Regions from separate parts of the Homo sapiens genome. Here region 1 is linked to region 2. The links are contacts of gene promoters, found by promoter capture Hi-C in human tissues and cell types (Jung and others, 2019). All regions are on one chromosome and are shown on one strand. The core of a region is centred on a gene start or on the middle of the fragment in contact, and the rest is flanking DNA. Distances in the headings are between cores, read along the strand shown. Region 1 has its middle 9.3 kb from the start of NECTIN2. Region 2 holds the start of KLC3 (kinesin light chain 3).

Evidence for each region. Contacts are between HindIII fragments. The study calls those that stand out against the background at their distance.
Region 1: a fragment that was not itself captured here is called in contact with the fragment with the promoter of KLC3 in region 2 in 2 of the 25 tissues and cell types used here (IMR-90 fibroblasts and lymphoblastoid cells).

Annotation. Positions count from the first base shown.
Region 1 is chr19:44,835,431-44,838,605 of GRCh38, reverse strand. No RefSeq gene overlaps it. Among named protein-coding and RNA genes, the nearest start is that of NECTIN2, 9.3 kb to the left of the region's middle. The HindIII fragment of the contact is 6,876 bases long and covers 1-3,175 here.
Region 2 is chr19:45,339,324-45,342,476 of GRCh38, reverse strand. KLC3 (kinesin light chain 3) reads right to left here and starts at 1,727. Exons shown (of 13, transcript NM_177417.3): 1 at 1,631-1,727. RefSeq lists a silencer at 1,742-1,831. The HindIII fragment of the contact is 10,588 bases long and covers 1-3,153 here.

The DNA.
Region 1 (3,175 bases), core at 464-2,963, 500 kb after region 2:
CCCTCACCTCAGGTGATCTGCCTGCCTCGGCCTCCCAAAGTTCTGGGATTACAGGCGTGAGCCACCGCACCTGGCCTTTATTTTTTTTTTTTTGAGACAGAGTGTCGCCCTGTCACCCAGGCTGGAGTGCAGTGGTGTGATCTCGGCTCGCTGCCACCTCCGCCTCCTGGGTTCAAGTGATCCTTGTGTCTCAGCCTCCTGAGTAGCTGGGATTACAGGCGCGTGCCACCATGCCCAGCTAATTTTTGTCTTTTTTTTTTTGTAGAGACAAGGTTTCACCATGTTGGCCAGGCTGGTCTCGAACTCATGACTTCAGGTGATCTGCCTGCCTCGGCCTCCCAAAGTGCTGGGATTACAGGTGTGAGCCACCGCACCTGGCCTAAGGCAACCTTTTTGCTTTTCTCTGTGTCTCTTTATTTTTCCTTAGATAATCACAATAATTAACATGTACTGCACATGGACTCTGTGCCAGGCTTTGTACTAAATACTTCCCTGGTTATCTCATCAAATTCTCCCCTCCATCCTCTGATCCTCTGTGTGCATTTGCTGTATTTTTTTAAAGGGAATTTTCAATTCTGTTATATAGGGAACAAGAGCCCTATAAATAAGGACACAGACAGGTGAAATGAAGGATGGATATTAAGAAGCAACTCAAGCCGGGCGTGGTGGCTCACACCTGTAATCCCAGCACTTTGGGAGGCTGAGGCAGGCGGATCATGAGGTCAGGAGATCGAGACCATCCTGGCGAACACGGTGAAATCTTGTCTCTACTAAAAATACAAAAAATTAGCCAGGCGTGGTGGCACCCGCCGGTAATCCCAGCTACTCGGAAGGCTGAGGCAGGAGAATCAGTTGAACCCGGGAGGCGGAGGTTGCAGTGAGCTGAGATCGCGCCACTGCACTCCAGCCTGGGCAACTGAGCAAGACTCCGTCTCAAAAAAAAAAAAAAAGCAACTCATGAGACCTGTTAGACATACTAAGAATGTGAGCTGAACACAGATGGGAGGGATGCAGGGATCCAGTAAGCTCCAAGCATTCATGCGTCCTGTGGGCGACACCCACTCTGCTCCATGAGTCCCAAGCCCAAGACACAGGTAAAAGCTGTGGCTGCCAAGCAGGTGATCAGCCAGCTACAGTCATCTAGCTTCTCATGTTTATTTTTGTTGTTGTTTTGAGACGGAGTCTCGCCCTGTTGCCCAGGCTGGAGTGCAGTGGCGTGATCTTGGCTCACTGCAAACTCCGCCTCCCGGGTTCAAGTGATTCTCATGCCTCAGCATCCCCAGTAGCTAGCATTACAGGTGTGCCCCCCTACCCCTGGCTAATTTTTGTATTTTTAGTAGAGATGGGGTTTCACCATGTTGGCCAGGCTGGTTGAGAACTCCTGACCTCAAGTGATCTGCTTGCCTCGACCTCCCAAAGTGCTGGGACTACTGTTATTTTATTTTTTGAGACAGGATCTCGCTCTGTTGCCCTGGCTGGAATGCAGTGGCTGGATCACGGCTCACTGCAGCCTCAGCCTCCCAGGCTCAAGGGATCCCCCTACCTCAGCCTCCCGAGTAGCTGGGACTACAGGCGTGTACCGCCACATCAGGCTAATTTTTGCATTTTTTGTAGAGACAGAGTCTCTGTTTGTTGCCAGGGCTGGTCTCGAACTCCTGGGCTCAAGTGATCCTCCTGCCTTGGCCTTCCAAAGTGCTGGGATTACAGGCCTGAGCCACAGCGCCCAGCCTGTTTTATTTTTTGAGTTTTGCACAACATCTTTTGTTTTAATCAAATCTCTTTGTTTTACTCCCATAGATTTGGCTTCAAAATTGAAGATCTAGATTCCATGTCCAGAGAAAGAGAGAACCTGATGAGTCTTGAGAACAAGACCAGGGACAAGATCTCTGAGCTGGAGTTCAAGGTCAACAGCCCACTTTGGTTAACAAGAGGCACCTCCTGGCTGTCCAGTGCTTCCTCGTGGAGGAGTCAACTGCTTCTCTTGGGAGGTGGAGGGTGTTCCCATCCAAGTGCCTCCTCAGGCCCTAGAGAGTCAGGGATTGGTTGCAGTTCCTGAAGTCTCTTCCTAGGTCTGTGGACCTTCTAAGGAATTCCACTGACCACTTTCCCCACTGGAGTCCAGCAACACCATTAGGATGTGAATTATTATTATTATTATTATGTCTTGGAGACAGGATCTTGCTCTGTCTCCCAGCCTGGAGTACAGTAATGCCATCATAGCTCGCTGCAGCTTTGACTTTCTGGACTTGAGCGATCCTCCCACTCTGAGTAGTGGGGACTGCAGGTGTGTGCCACCATGTTTGGCTAATTTAAAAATTTTTTTGTAGAGATGGGATCTTGCTGTGTTGCCCAGGCTGGTCTTGAATTCCTGACCTCAAGTGATTTTCCCGCCTTGAGCTCCCAAAGTGCTGGGATTACAGGCGTGAGCCACTGTGCCTGGTGGGTTGTGAAGTTTGTTCATTGATGTCTCCCCAGTGCCTGGCACACAGTAAACACTCAATACACTTTTTATTTTTTTGAGACGGAGTCTCGCTCTGTTACCCAGGCTGGAGTGTAGTGACTCGATCTCAGCTCACTGCAACCTCCGCCTCCAAGTTTCAAGTGATTCTCCTGCCTCAGCCTCCCGAGTAGCTGTGACTACAGGCATGCACCACAATGCCAGGCTAATTTTTGTATTTTTAGTAGAGATGGGGTTTCACCATGTTAGCCAGGCTGGTCTCGAACTCTTGACCTCAGGTGATCAGCCAGCCTTGGCTTCCCAAACTGTTGGGATTACAGGCGCGAGCCACCACGCCCTCTGAACTTTTCTTGAAGGTATGATTGCGTGAATGGAGGAATGAATCCTCAGGTGTGTTTTGCCAGGGGCTGGCCAGGCATGGCTTTCCCAGTAGGTGCTCTATTGCATTGGAAAGGTGGAACAGGCTTGACTTCCATGTTTGTGAATATAAACTGGCCTCTTAGGTCTTTCTTTCCTCCAGTCTTTCCTCCTCAGGCATAGATGGTAAACAAAATGTCACCAACCTCACCAGCAAAGTGCTCATTTCCCTGGGGCCAGAACATGATGTACACAGACACAAATTTAGCATATTTGATATCATGATATCATGCCCACCTGGTGGGGTCAGCTGGGTGGGCTGCCCACCTGGGCCCCAAACCTCTCTCGCACTCTTCCTGG
Region 2 (3,153 bases), core at 478-2,977:
ACCTTTTTTTAATTTTTAAAAAACTAAACTATGCCCAGCTAATTTTTGTTTTTGTAGAGACGGGGTATCACCATATTGCCCAGGCTAGTCTAGGATTCCTGGGTTCAAGCAATCCCCGCCGCCTCAGCCTCCCAAAGTGTTGAGATTACAGGTATGAGCCACTGCACCCGGCCAATCTGTGTGCTTGTGTATATCACACCATACCTATTCTCACACCTCACACACAAACATCATAAATGGTTGAACTCACAACCACACAGGTTCAAGAGTCATCCTGACAACCACAACCATTCTTCACACAATTTTGCCGATGTAAAACCTCCCTCTATAACCTCAGACACAGCCTTACACACACCACTCCACAGCCAGATTGACAACCACAGCAACAAACACGGCTCAACCACAGCCATCCAGCACTCGGGCTGTGTCCCAGACACACAGCAGCTCCCACACTCACACAGAGCCCCGGGTGCACAACCGCACAGCTGATAATCATAGGCACAGTCCCACACACTGATCCCTGACGCGGACCCCCTTTTCCATCCTGTCACCCGCTTGGAGGAGCATCCCACTTAAATGTCCACGTCTCCACTCCCATCTCCCACAAACTCTCCGTTGCACACCACTGCCAGCCACGGTATCAATGCAGATCACACACCCTCTAGTTCCTCTCTACACACACACACACACACACACACACGCACACACGGCTTCACACACCTCCACACCTCACTCATCCAACCCCAAGGTTCCACGCGCACCGTCCCATGAAACAGCTCCACTTCTGGACACAGTTCCGCCCAGCCCCATGCACCATCACAGTGACACACAATCAAAAGTCAATCATAGTCACCTATCACTGATCCAGTGCCACACTGTCCACCACACGCGCGCGCGCACACACACACACACACACACACACCAACAGGCAGAAAGACAACCACAGCCGCACAGCCTCTTGGTCAATCACACCTAATCCTACAACCAGTTCCACTCTCTGCCATGAAGACAGCCACACACACAGCCACACACATGCACATCAGGCCAAGCAGAAAGTCGACTACAGTCGCACTAGCTCTTGGTCGTAAAGTGCTACCAGCAATCCAATTCTACACACACACCATTCCAGTCAGAGGTCGCCCACGTTTTCACATTGCTAAAAGTGTCACATCATACACACAGTCCCATCACAGGGTTACACGGACAGTCGCTTTCACCCTCATACCCACAGCCTGACACACTCTCTTACACACACGCAAAGCCACACACACACACACACACACACACACAAACACAGGCAGGCAGGAGACTCCCATCGTGGCCCAGCCCCGCAAGCCGCACCAACTTACCCTGGCCTGCCCAGCCCCGCGCACCAGGCTCACCCGCAGTCACAAGGGCCCCCTCCCTCTCCCTCCCAGGCCCCGCCCCGTCCTCGCTGTTTACCTGCGCTGGGGTGGGGGGCATGGGACCCCAGCCAGGCCTCCAGATCCCGGAGAGCCCCAGGACGGGGCAGGGGGCATCCGGGAGCCCCAAGGCCCTTCCCCGTCTCAGGGCGAGCGGGCCCAGGGTTGCCCCCGCCCCCCATCATCGCGGCTCTCCGAGAGTCCCGCGCCCCACTCCCGGCACCCACCTGACCGCGGGCGGCTCCGGCCCCGCTTCGCCCCACTGCGATCAGTCGCGTCCCGCAGGCCAGGCACGCCCCGCCGCTCCCGCTGCGCCGGGCGTCTGGGACCTCGGGCGGCTCCTCCGAGGGGCGGGGCAGCCGGGAGCCACGCCCCCGCAGGTGAGCCGGCCACGCCCACCGCCCGTGGGAAGTTCAGCCTCGGGGCTCCAGCCCCGCGGGAATGGCAGAACTTCGCACGCGGAACTGGTAACCTCCAGGACACCTCGAATCAGGGTGATTGTAGCGCAGGGGCCTTGGCCAAGCTAAAACTTTGGAAACTTTAGATCCCAGACAGGTGGCTTTCTTGCAGTGCCTGCCCCAGAGCCTTTTCCTTGGTTGTGTGGCCTGCTTCGATCTCTCTTCCCACAGATCTCATCGTCTTTAGGTCTCTTCTCAAAGGCCACCTCCTCCGGCAGGCCTTCCCTGATTGCCCCCTTCTAAATGGCACCCTTCCACCAAAACATTACATACTCCTCTTGATTTTGTTCACAAAACTTTTCAGGGCCTAAAATTACCTTATTTATTTATTGAGAGGGAGTCTCGCTCCGTCACCCAGGCTGGAGTGCAGTAGCGCGATCTCGGCTCACTGCAACCTCCACCTCCCAAGTTCAAGCGATTCTCCCATCTCAGTCTCCCGAGTAGCTGCGACTACAAGTGTCTGCCACCACGCCCGGCTACTTTTTATATTTCTAGTAGAGACGGGGTTTCGCCATGTCGGCCAGGCTGGTCTCAAACTCCTGACCTCAAGTGATCCTCCCGCCTCGGCCTCCCAAAGTTCTGGGATTACAGGAGTGAGCCACCGCCCCCGGCCCCTAAAGTTATTTTATATAACATATATCACATCATTATGTTATGTTATATATTATGTTATTGGCAAGGGAATGTGATATCTAAGAATTGGGCTCAGGGTTCAAATTTGATTCCGGCACTTACTTGCTGTGCAGGCCTTGGGCAAGTAACTTAACCTCTCTGTGCCTCAGTTTCCCTAGTCAATAAAATATAAATAGTCTAAGGCTTTGAGAATTGAATGTTAACTAATACAGGGACAGTACTTTTTTTTTTTTTTTTTTTTTTTTGAGACACAGTCTCGCTGTGTTACCCAGGCTGGAGTACAATGGCGCTATCTTATCTTGGCTCACTGCAACTCCTGGGTTCAAGTCATTCTCCTGTCTCAGCCTCCCGAGTAGCTGGGATTACAGGCGCCCGCCACCATGCCCAGCTAATTTTTCCATTTTTAGTAGAGACGGGGTTTCCCCATGTTAGCCAGGCTGATCTCGAACTCCTGACCTTAGGTGATCTGCCCACCTCGACCTCCCAAAGTGCTGGAATTACAGGCGTGAGCCACCGCGCCTGGCCAGGACAGTACTTTTATCAGGGCCTCGCAAATAGAAAGTACTTAGTAAATACTCGCTACTGACTGTATATTATGGGTTCACTTTTTCTCCTCTACTATATAAGCTCTGAGGGCAGGGCTGTATATTGTCAGCACT